Regions from separate parts of the Homo sapiens genome. Here regions 1 and 2 are each linked to region 3. The links are contacts of gene promoters, found by promoter capture Hi-C in human tissues and cell types (Jung and others, 2019). All regions are on one chromosome and are shown on one strand. The core of a region is centred on a gene start or on the middle of the fragment in contact, and the rest is flanking DNA. Distances in the headings are between cores, read along the strand shown. Region 1 overlaps DOP1B (DOP1 leucine zipper like protein B). Region 2 overlaps CBR3 (carbonyl reductase 3). Region 3 holds the start of CHAF1B (chromatin assembly factor 1 subunit B).

Evidence for each region. Contacts are between HindIII fragments. The study calls those that stand out against the background at their distance.
Region 1: a fragment that was not itself captured here is called in contact with the fragment with the promoter of CHAF1B in region 3 in 1 of the 25 tissues and cell types used here (spleen).
Region 2: a fragment that was not itself captured here is called in contact with the fragment with the promoter of CHAF1B in region 3 in 1 of the 25 tissues and cell types used here (spleen).

Annotation. Positions count from the first base shown.
Region 1 is chr21:36,247,556-36,251,365 of GRCh38, reverse strand. DOP1B (DOP1 leucine zipper like protein B) reads right to left here. Exons shown (of 37, transcript NM_001320714.2): 20 at 3,738-3,810; 21 at 2,798-2,986; 22 at 82-204. Among named protein-coding and RNA genes, the nearest start is that of MORC3, 71 kb to the left of the region's middle. The HindIII fragment of the contact is 4,127 bases long and covers 380-3,810 here.
Region 2 is chr21:36,140,106-36,144,145 of GRCh38, reverse strand. All of the region lies in intron 2 of CBR3 (carbonyl reductase 3), which reads right to left. All of the region lies in intron 2 of CBR3-AS1 (CBR3 antisense RNA 1), which reads left to right. Among named protein-coding and RNA genes, the nearest start is that of CBR3, 7.0 kb to the right of the region's middle. The HindIII fragment of the contact is 4,156 bases long and covers 114-4,040 here.
Region 3 is chr21:36,383,184-36,386,649 of GRCh38, reverse strand. It overlaps CHAF1B (chromatin assembly factor 1 subunit B), which reads right to left and starts at 1,258. Exons shown (of 14, transcript NM_005441.3): 1 at 1,199-1,258; 2 at 388-590. The coding sequence starts at 513. RefSeq lists enhancers at 1-305, 306-807 and silencers at 927-1,026, 1,057-1,426. The HindIII fragment of the contact is 18,705 bases long and covers 1-3,466 here.

The DNA.
Region 1 (3,810 bases), core at 1,194-3,693, 140 kb after region 3:
GTCACCTTTGATTCCACATGATTCTGTGGTATTTCTTTGTCACAGTAAGTTTAACCACTCCTGTAACTTTTTAAACTTTACCTTCATCTTACTGTGACGCTGGGCTTTCTTTCTGCTCCACACTGCCGCAACAGCCGCTGTCAACTGAACCCCAAGATGGGCCGTCAAGGGGTTTAAGAAGTCTAAAATTTTTTGTCTTATGGTCTAGAAAATAGGGAAAAAAAAGTTACTGCAGAGTAATATTGGGGCTATGGCATCATATACATTGAACCACCACTGCTGTCCATACCGAGAGCAAGGACCCTGTCATGTTTGTGCCCAATGTTGTGCTGAGGTGCTTCCCTGATGGGTGGATCCCAGCAATGGGAGGAATCAAACCCTTTCCGCAAGGAGCTAGATGTGTGATGTTGGCGTGTCATGCCGGCGGGGGGAAGGGGCAGTGAGCAGCCAAGGTGGAGAGACGGATGGCCAGCTCGATTGGCCAGGAGCATCTCGGGAGACGATGAATATCACCCTTGCTGCTGTGAGCACAGTGGGGGTCTTGCAGGAAGCCGGGCAAGGCTTTGCAGCACTGCTTCCATCTGGAAACCCCACAGCCTCAGCCTGACTCCATCTGCTGCGGAAGGGCTTATATTCATTAGGAAAGTTGTTGCTCAATTTCCAGAAATAAGCACCATTTAACTAATTTTATCAGGTAATCAATTTAAACCTGTAACATGGTCCTGATGTCACTCAGCACCCTCTGTTTTGCTACTTATGAATTTCTCTGTGTTCCCGCCACGTTTCTCGCTCTGTAAATCCTACCGCTCTCTCAGCCTGCAGTGCCCACCGTAGTTAAATCCTCTCCGCCTGGGGCCTCAGCTAAGCCATGCCGCCTCAGGAACCCCAGGTCAGGCCAGGCCTCCTGTTCACACACTCTCAGGAAACCCTGTGTTTCTTTGAAGCCCTGCTCACATCGTTATTACACTGCCAGTTAATGTCTGCCTCTGCCACAGGGGCAGGGACTTCATCTCTCTTGTCCACCGGTAAAGCAAGAGAGCCTGGTGCGTGGCAGCAGGCACAAAATGTCTGTCGAAGAGACGGATTTACCCAGCGCTTCCTGTGACAACCGCCCATGTTTATTTCACATTAGATACAACTGAGCCAGCAATGGAGCTGTCCCCTCTTTTCCACCATGGCTTCTGCTCTAGAGGGACTAATGTGGGGTCCCGCTCCCCGGCCCTGGGTTCCTCAGGGAGGGCTAGGAGTTAAGTGCCTAATGAGCATCGGCCTTTATCGTAATTACTCTTTCCCTCAACCCATGAGGACAGGATGCTAGCCACAGCCTGGTTTAACAGACGAGGAAATGGAGGCTCAGAGAGGCTGAGTGCTACAGGAAGCTCCCCTAAAAAAGGTTTAGAAAATCTTTTTTTCTGAGTGAGAAAAAAGGTTTTCTGAATCTTTTTAAGAGCAGGTTCTTATAGGAGCTTGAAATACAGAATTCCCTTGGCACCCTAGGAACCGACAGAATGTCTGGAGGCCAACAACGCACCGTGGTACCTAAATGCAGGATGGCAAGGCTCATCCCTGCGGCCACATCTGGCACCTGGGGGCTCTCAACTGATGTCAGATGTGGCAGATAATTCTGAGATGCCACACACAGTAACACAGATGGTGAGCGACCGAGTCCTGCGCCTACAGCCTTCTGAGGCAGACACTGAAAACCAAAGACTAAACTATAATATAAATATTCACAGTTGTGCGTTTTTGGTTTAAGAACTCAAAGGCACCCTGACATTCCACTCTGATGGGGCCATGTTTGACAGGCACCGCTAAAAGCAGAACAGAGATGAGCTGTCTCGCAGAAATGCTTTAGAGACTCAAGGCTGGGGTCTCTAGATCATTTAGAGGTGAGGATCTAGGTATCCCCGCTTTGAACCACTAGAGACTATTGTTTTTGAGACAGGGTCTCACTCTGTCACCCAGGCTTGAGTGCACTGGCGTGATCTCAGCTCACTTCAACCTCCACCTCCCAGGCTCAAGCAATCCTCTTGCCTCGGCCTCCTGAGTAGCTCGGACTACAGGTGCCTGCCACCATACCCAGCTAATTTTTGTATTTTTTGTAGAGATGGGGTTTCGCCATGTTGGCCAGGCTGGTCTTGAACTCCTGAGCTCAAGCAATCCACCCCATCTTGGCCTCCCAAAGTGCTGGGATTACAAGCATGAGCCACCGCGCCTAGCTCTAGAGACTTTATTTATTTTAATTATTTTTATTTTTTTTTGAGATGGGGTTTTGCTCTGTTGCCCAGGCTGGGGTGCAGTGGTGCAATCTTGGCTCACTGCAACCTCCGCCTCCCAGGTTCCAGCGATTTTCCTGCCTCGGCCTCCTGAGTAGCTGGGATTACAGACACGTGCTACCACACCTGGCTAATTTTTGTATTTTTAGTAGAGATGGGGTTTCACCATGTTGGCCAGGCTGTTCTTGAACTCCTGACCTCAGGAGATCCATCCGCCTTGGCCTCCCAAAGTGCTGGGATTACAGGTGTGAGCTACCATGCCCGGCCAAGACTTTATTTTTAACTACAAAATAAGGTGAATGGAAAATAAGAAGAAAACAGGCTGAAACCACTCAGACTCCTCCATTTCAGGTATAGGAAACTTACTGATAACAAATGAACTAGAGATTTCTACTTCTGATCTCTGACTTGGGTTTCATTGAGCACATCTGTTTATCATGCACACTTTCCTATACACATTTATTTTGGGTGGAACAATACAAGACCAAGTAAATGACAGAACTACAGAGACATCCTCTTACTTTGGTGGTTTTAAAGTAAACGGAAGAGGATCCCTTCGTGGCCCCTAGGAGATCGACAGGTCTCTTTTGAGTCTCCTCCTTTCTGAGAACATTCCAGAGAAGGGCCATGGTGTTAACAGTTCGAGGCAGCTCTTCCAAAATGGCATTTCTGGCATTCCTCAAGTTGGCAGGATCACCTGCAGCCATGGTCTAAAAATTAAAATGAATACATGAGGCAGGCTGTGTCTGTGGAATGGTTTTTCTTCCCACGAGGGCAGCAGTGCTAGCGGGATTAGGTCTGGGCTGTTGGACTCTCTTCTAAGCAACTCATACATGTGGTGGTCTGGGAGCAATAAGCTTCTCTGTGCATTTCAACCCATGGTTCTCTTTCACAGAGACAGCTGTGAGTCTGATGTTCTAAATTACAAACTTTTCAACCATTCAACCAAAGTGTTAGATGTATTCTAAGACTTAATCCCAGGGTATTCTACAGGGTAGAATAACCAACAGCTAAAATGTCTGCCTACTCAGATTTCATGAACACCATGATAGCAAGTAAAAAATACATGGAAAAAGATGACTATAAGCCTAAAATCAAACAAGTGGCTTTATAAGTTATCTCACAGGCTACTGATGGAACAATGGGCAAAGGGCTGGCACAGGGAGTGCCAGCAGGAAGAAAACTATGTTTGCATGGCTGACATACATACTTATGCATTTGCGTTAATTATATACATGCATTTGCATATGCATTTGCGTAGGCACTTGCATTGCTAACACACATGCATTTGCATACGTGTGTACGTGACTTATGTAATATTTGCATTCACATTTGCATCACCTCCATACGCATATTAGTTACAGACATTACATACATACGTTACTTATTTGAAACAGTCATAGCCCAAAGACAAAACAATACATGAAAATTGCCTTGAACTCAGGAAAAAAAAAAATTTACCTTTTTGTTTTGGTTGGCTTGTTCCAAAAGACAAAAATGACTAATGGTCGTTAGACCTTCTAGAAGGGTGAGT
Region 2 (4,040 bases), core at 942-3,441, 240 kb after region 3:
CCCCAGCATACACACTCCAAGTACTTATAAACCTGCTTTCTGAGGGACAGTGCTCTCACCCTAAGGACTAAAGCTCTCAATTTCCTAGGCACACCCAATGTCCTAGGACAGTGGGCAGCCACCCCAATTCCTTAGTGCCACAACCAGCAGTAAGGAATCCCTGGGGATGACTCTGTCTGTCCTTCATTATGGACACTTCACGTGTGGAATGGGCTGTTTTTCCATCCTGGTTTTTATCTCATCACTTTTTTTTTTTTTTTTTTTTTGAGACAGAATCTCACTCTGCCAGCCAAGCTGGAGTGCAGTGGCATGATCTCGGCTCACTGTAGCCTCCACTTCCCAGACTCAAGTGATCCTCCTGTCTCAGCCCCACAAATAACTGGGCCCACAGGCACACACCACTGCACTCAAATAATTTTTGTATTTTTCGTAGAAACGGGGTTTCTCCATGTTGGCCGGGCTGGTCGCAAACTCCTGAGCTCAGGAGATCTGCCTGCCTTGGCCTCCCAAAGTGCTAGGATTATAGGCGTGAGCCACTGCATCCGGCCTGATTTCATTACTTTTTAGTCCCTATTTGATAATATTAATATTCATTAAATTATGAATTAATATTCATGTTGATCATGATTCACAGCTACTAAAGAGACAATTGTGCCCATAGAAACAAATATGTAGGCCAAAAATTTTACAATTTGAAGTACTGGTGGAAATCCAAAAACCAGTAAATGTGTTAATTTACACATTTCATCAGCATCAAACCCCACTAATTTTAGTGAGTTCTTTTATTATGTATTATTCTGAATGCATATTCTCTGTGTCCAATAGGGTCTTTTTTTTTTTCTTTGAGATGAGTCTTGCTCTGTTGTCCAGGCTGGAGTGCAGTGGCGCGATCTCAGCTCACTGCAACCTCTATCTCGGGTTTAAGTGATTCTCCTGCCTCAGCCTCCCAAGTAGCTGGGATTACAGGTGTGCGCCACCATGCCCAGCTAATTTTTGTATTTTTAGGAGAGATGGGGTTTCACCATGTTGGCCAGGCTGGTCTCAAACTCCTGACCTCAGGTGCTCTGCCTTCCTCGGCCTCCCAAAGTGCTGGGGTTGCACGCATGAGCCACCGCACCTGGCCGGATCTGTAGATTTTATTTCATTTTCTGAATGGCATTCCCCACAAGTTCCCATTGCAAGGGAGCTGCACATTCTTGTGGACCCCAATCCCACAAGAGATACCCTCACTCTGTCCTTGGAAACTAGCACCTCACTCATCCCCCCAGGTACCTAGTACTATTCAGTATTTCTTTCCTTCCTTCTCTCTCTCACTTTCAAAGATGAAGTGTATGTATGTATTTCTTTCCTGTTACAGAGAAGTTACAAGAATAGTTCGATAAATACCCTATGCCCATCACCTAAGTTCACTAATTGTTAACATTTTGCTGTGTTTGCTTTTTCCCTCTCTGTCCCTTTTTCTCTCCAAGTTGCTGATATCATAAACCTTCATCTTAAACACTTTAGTATTATATATGGTAGCAAGGGCATTCCCCTACATTACTACAGTTATGACCACATGCCAGGCATTTATCATTATACAACACTATTATCTAAAATACAGCCCATATTCAAATGTGTCCAAATTGTCCCAGTAATGTTCTTTTACAGTTTTTGTTTGCTTTAATCCAGGGTCCAAAGTAGGATCATGGATTGCGTTTTTTTTTTTTTTTTTGAGATGGAGTCTCGCTCTGTCACCTAGGCTGGAGTGCAGTGGCGTGATCTCGGCTCACTGCAAGCTCCACCTCCCGGGTTCATGCCATTCTCCTGCCTCAGTCTCCCAAGTAGCTGGGACTACAGGCGCCTGCCACCATGCCTGGCTAATTTCTTGTATTTTTAGTAGAGACGGGGTTTCACCGTGTTAGCGAGGATAGTCTCAATCTCCTGACCTCATGATCCGCCCGCCTTGGTCTCCCAAAGTGCTGGGATTACAGGCGTGAGTCACCGCACCTGGCCCATGGATTGCATTTAATTGTCACATCTCTTTCATATATTTTAATGTAAGGTAGTTGGCAATGACTTTTTTGAAGACTGTAGACCATTATTTTGTAGTATTTCTCTCAAAGTGAATTGGTCTGTTCTCATGAGGAGAGTCACATCAATATTTTGGCCAGGAATACTACATCAGTGATGTTGTGTTCTTCATTGCTTTCTAAACAGCTTTGTTCTCAGAAACTTGGCGGCTACAAGGAATTAAATGTGAATGGGAAAGGAAGAAAGAAAAACACAGATCATAGAAGCTGTGCCTTCGAGGAAATAAATCCTCTTAAGGGGAGGAGGTGTCCTCTTTGATCTGAGGGCACACCTCTGGGAGAGAGGCCAGAGGCTGACAGTCAGCCTCGTCAGCCAGATGCGTCATCAGCCCTGGGAAGGGCTGCACCCACACCACCCTCCACTGAGGTCCAGGTGGCCCCACCGGTCCCGAAACACCTGCTGCCTTACTCTAGAAAGAGTAGGCAAGTTGCGCCCTCTAGTGGCTTAGTAGTTGCTTGTCCTATTGACTCAGAACCTTGAACAAATAAGCAAGTCAAATACAGATAGATGGTCCCTGCCCTCTGATGGTTCCACTTAGGACTTACTGACTTCACTGATGGATGAGGAAGCGATATGCATTCTGCAGAATCTGTACTTGGAGGCCCCATACAACCATTCTGCATTTCACTTTCAGTACAGATTCAATAAATTACATAAGATACTCAACATTTTATGATAAAATAGGCTTTGTGTTAGATGACTTTGCCAGACTATAGGCTAATGTAAGCGTTCAAAGCACCTTGAAGCTAGACGAGGCTGACCTATGGTGTTTGGTAGGTCAGATGCGTTAAATGCATTTTTTTTTTTTTTTGAGACAAGGACTTGCTCTGTCGCCCAGGCTAGAGTACAGTGGCACAATCATAGCTCACTGCAGCCTCAACCTCCTGGGCCCAAGCGATCCTCCCACCTCAGTCTCTCGAGAAGCTGGAACATGCCACTATGCCCAGCTAATTTTTAATTTTCATTTTTTGTGTAGAGCTGGGGTCTCCATATGTTGCTCAGGATTAAGTCCATTCTTATGATATTTTCTTTTCTTTCTTTCTTTCTTTTTTTTTTTTTTTTTTTGAGATGGAGTGTGGCTCTGTCGCCCAGGCTGGAGTGCAGTGGCGCGATCTGGGCTCACTGCAAGTTCCGCCTCCCGGGTTCATGCCATTCTCCTGCCTCAGCCTCCCGACTAGCTGGGACTACAGGTGCCCACCACCATGCCTGGCTAATTTTTTTGTATTTTTAGTAGAGATGGGGTTTCACCGTGTTAGCCAGGATGGTCTCGATCTCCTGACCTCGTGGTCTGCCTGCCTTGGCCTCCCAAAGTGCTAGGATTACAGGTGTGAGCCACTGTGCCCGGCCACAAAAACTTCTTAACCTAAAAAGGTGAATGGTGAGAATTGCACTTGTACTCTTGTACTTGCTCAGTTTTTTAGTGGGATGGGATCAGAGAAAGCCTGCAGGGAGAACTGCAGGTGCTCTGGAAGGGGATGGAGTTTTAAAGGTGTCTTAATACCTTGCAGCTCTCAAGTTCCCATTCAAAAATTTATCGGGAGAAAACTTCCCAACACTGGGTAAAAGACATCCCTATAATGGCTGCGTCCCTATATAGCCACAAAAAAGATAAAAGCTTTCTGACCAAACCTGGAGAGAGCCCCAGACATAAGGAGTAAAAAAAGCAAAGTGGCAAACATTGTATGAAATGTTACCTTCTGTGTAAAAAGGAGAGTTTTTAAAATGTGCGTTTATATTGGCTCAGATTTGCATTTAGAAACTCCATCCCCTTCAAAGCACCTGCAGTTCTCCCTGCAGGCTTTCTATGATCTCATCCCACTCAGAAACTGACAGAGTACAAGTGCAACTCTCACCATTCACCTTCTTAGGTTAAGAACTTTTTGCGTCTGAGTGCGGTGGCTCAAGCCTGTAATCCTAGCATTTTGGGAGGCCAAGGCGGGTGGATCACCTGAGGTCAGGAATTCGAG
Region 3 (3,466 bases), core at 9-2,508:
ACAAAGTAGTTTAGTTTGTTGACATACGTTAATTCATTCATTCATTTACTTAAGAGAAGGGTCTGGCTCTGTCACCCAGGCTGGAGTGCAGTGGAGTGATCGTTGCTTGCTTCAAACTCCTAGGCTCAAGCGATCCTCTCACTTCAACTTCCCAAGTAGCTGGGCCTACAGCTGCACACTGCCACGTCCCGCTACTTTTTCATGTCTGGCTGTTGCCCAGGCTGGTGTCGAACTCCTGGACTCAAGCGATCCTCTCACCTCAGCCTCCCAAAGCACTGGGATTACAGGCGTAAGCCACCGCGCCCAGCCGACACTGGTTTTAAGTAAAAGAATGAAAACTATTGCTTCAAGCAGTGTTCCCGGATGTCTATCTCTGCCCCAGTTTACCCTGACATTGGTGTCCACGCCGGCAGACGCCAGTCTGTGGATCCTCCCAGCCGTCCCATGCTGGAAGTCCAGGCTGTACACGGGCTCCTTGTTGTGCCAGGCTATTTCACAAGTGATGACTTTCATCCTCCTGAGTCTCGAAGGGGAAAAACGTTTCTCGGGCACCGTTCTACTTCTTCAAGACAGGAGAAAGCTGCAAAATGCTGGTGATGGATTAAACAACAGTGTTAACAGCAGCAAAGGGTTATTGAGCGCTGAATAGGGGCCAGGAGCCATTTAAAATGCACACTGCATTGGGAAAGGATGTTAACGTTGCCATCTGACAATAACACCTTGCTAGCTCCACCTAAAATGCTTCGCTGGGTCCTGACATCCACAAGTTTATGATACGCCGCTACATCCAGAAAAGCAAAACGAAACACCCAGGTAAAGGCTACCTAGGGGCCCCGGCCGTCTGCACGGCCTGTCCCCGCTTAGTAGGGGCTAGGGGCGCGCCCTGAGAGCCCGGGGAGGGGCCCGCCCCGGGAGGAGCCTCCCGGAAGAGGGGGCCAAACGGGGTAGGGGACCGGGGCGGCGGGGCGAGAGGAGAACCCCGCCTTTCCCAGGGACCGGGCGCTGGGCCCGGGAAGCTGGGACTGAGGCCGCCGGGAGGAGGCCGCGCGGGGCCGGGGGTGGACGGGGCCCCGCCGCCCCAACGCGCGCCGCTCCGGAGCTATCCCGGGGCCCAGGGGCCCGCCCTCGGCGAGGGCCTCTGGCCCGGACCGACGCGACCAAAAGAGCCGCGGAGCTGCCCGGGCCAGGGAAGCCGTACCTGGAGGGACCCGGACAGTCAGAGGCACCGTCACCTCCCGCGCAGCGCGCGCCGCTTCCCGCGCGCCGCAGGCCCCGCCCCCGCATGGGCGGGACCTCATAGACGCCCCGCCCCTCCAGCGGCCCTCAGGTCCCGCCCGACGTGGGCGGTACCCCAGGGAAGCCCCGCCCACTCATAGACGCCAAGGCGAGTCCTGCTCTGGCCCTGGGGTCGGAATCCCGGCCGGAATTTATGCCTGCCAGACCCACGACCGAAGGAAGAATGGATTCATTATTATTTATTATTATTATCCATTACTTATTCCTTGTTGATTCGCTCTTTTAGCAAAGGTTTACAGAGCCTGGGCTGTGTGTTAGACAGACCCTATGCTGGCGCTGGGCACTTGGAGGGCTAACACAACCGGTTCTCTTGCCCCTTCTGCAAACAAAAACTGAGATTTTTGGGTTTTCTGTATTGGCTTCTAGAACATTTTGGAGAGTTCAAAGCTATGAAATTGTTCAGTACCTAGCGCAAGGTTGCTTACATTTTATTATTATAGTAGATGCAGTTATAAACCCTTTTTAAGAACAGACTAACATTTTAAAGTGAGGCTGTAAATCAGTCGGTAGGCAGAGATAGATACCTCAGGCTTTTCGAAATGGGACGTTTCCAAATGAGACCTAATTTATCTGTGGGCTTCGCAGAAGGCCAGGAAACAAGTACCTCTGGATGCGCTGCTTTTACTGGATAAAAGAAACACACAGGGTTATCTGAGGAGCCAACTGCTCTAGGATTTTTGGAAAAAAAGAACAGACATGGATTCTTATATAAATACCGGCTGATGCTTTTAGCCAGCTTTATGAAAGGTACAGAAATTGCCTACAAATCCGTGTCTCATGTTGATGAGAATGGCTGTATGCTCCTTGAAGCCTGATTTCTACAGGAAGCTAGAATAACATAATCCGGATATGCAGTTTTTAGATTTTTCTCTTCAGGATTTACAGAGCTTGGACTGGGAATGACTATATACTTTAGATAATATGGCTGTTCTAAAAGTACAGATTCCTGGCCCTACTCAGCCCCATGATTCCGAATATCCAGCAGAGGCCCGTGCTCCAGGGGCTTGCATTTTCATAAACTCCCCGGTGGGTGTGATCATCAGTCTGTTTTGGAAAGCTCTGGATTCTTCGTGTCTCTCAAACATAAAATTTCTCCAAATTTCTCATAAATGCTGTTCATTCACAAATGAATAATCTGCCCACCTCTTGAAGTGTCACGACTCTGAACTGTGGATTTAAAAGATAAAAACACATGCTTTAAGTATTAAAAGTACATGAAGGAGTTGGCTTTCTTGGCGAACATTTTAGAGATCCGACTTCAGTGCCAACTTGATGAGCCAACACGGGCAGGGGATGCGGCTCTAGAGAGAGGCCCTGGGCTGTCAAATATTTTCTCAAAAAAAAAAAAAAAAGTATTTGTTCAAAACCTCAAAGTTTGCACCACAAATGTTGGACTAAAGAATTCCTGCCGGTCGCGGTAGCTCACGCCTGTAATCCCAGCACTTTAGGAGGCCGAGGTGGGCGGATCATGAGGTCAGGAGATCGAGGCCATCCTGGCTAACATGGTGAAACCCCATCTCTACAAAAATTACAAAAAATTAGTCGGGCGTGGCGGCGGGCGCCTGTAGTCCCAGCTACTCGGGAGGCTGAGGCAAGACAATGGCGTGAACCCGGGAAGCGGGGCTTGCAGTGAGCCGAGATCGTGCCACTGCACTCCAGCCTGGGCGAGAGAGCGAGACTCTGTCTCAAAAAAAAAAAAAAAAAAAAAAAAGGGAATTCCTATAACGCAATTCTAACTAGATTCCTCAACAACCACTGTTGTTCAGCTTGGGCCCCAAGCATCCATTTTGAGCAGAACTGCCTCAATTTAAGGGGACCAATGTTATTTGGTTCCTGAGAACTTTTTAATAATGAAAATTGATATAAAGGGACTAACTCTTAACTCAGCTTCGAAAAAAAACTTCTCAAGGCATTTTAATTTCCATTTGTAAGTGTGAACATTCTAAAATCAAAATCTGAGCCGGGCATGGTGGCTCACATCTATAATCCCAACGCTTTGGGAGGCCAAAGCAGGCAGATTGCTTGAGGCTAGGAGTTCCAGACCAGCCTGGCCAACATGGCAAAACCCCTTCTCTATAAAAATACAAAAACTATACAGAGTGGTAGTGTGTGCCTGTAATCCCAGCTACTCGGGATACTAGGGAGGCTGAGGCAAGAGAATCCATTGAAC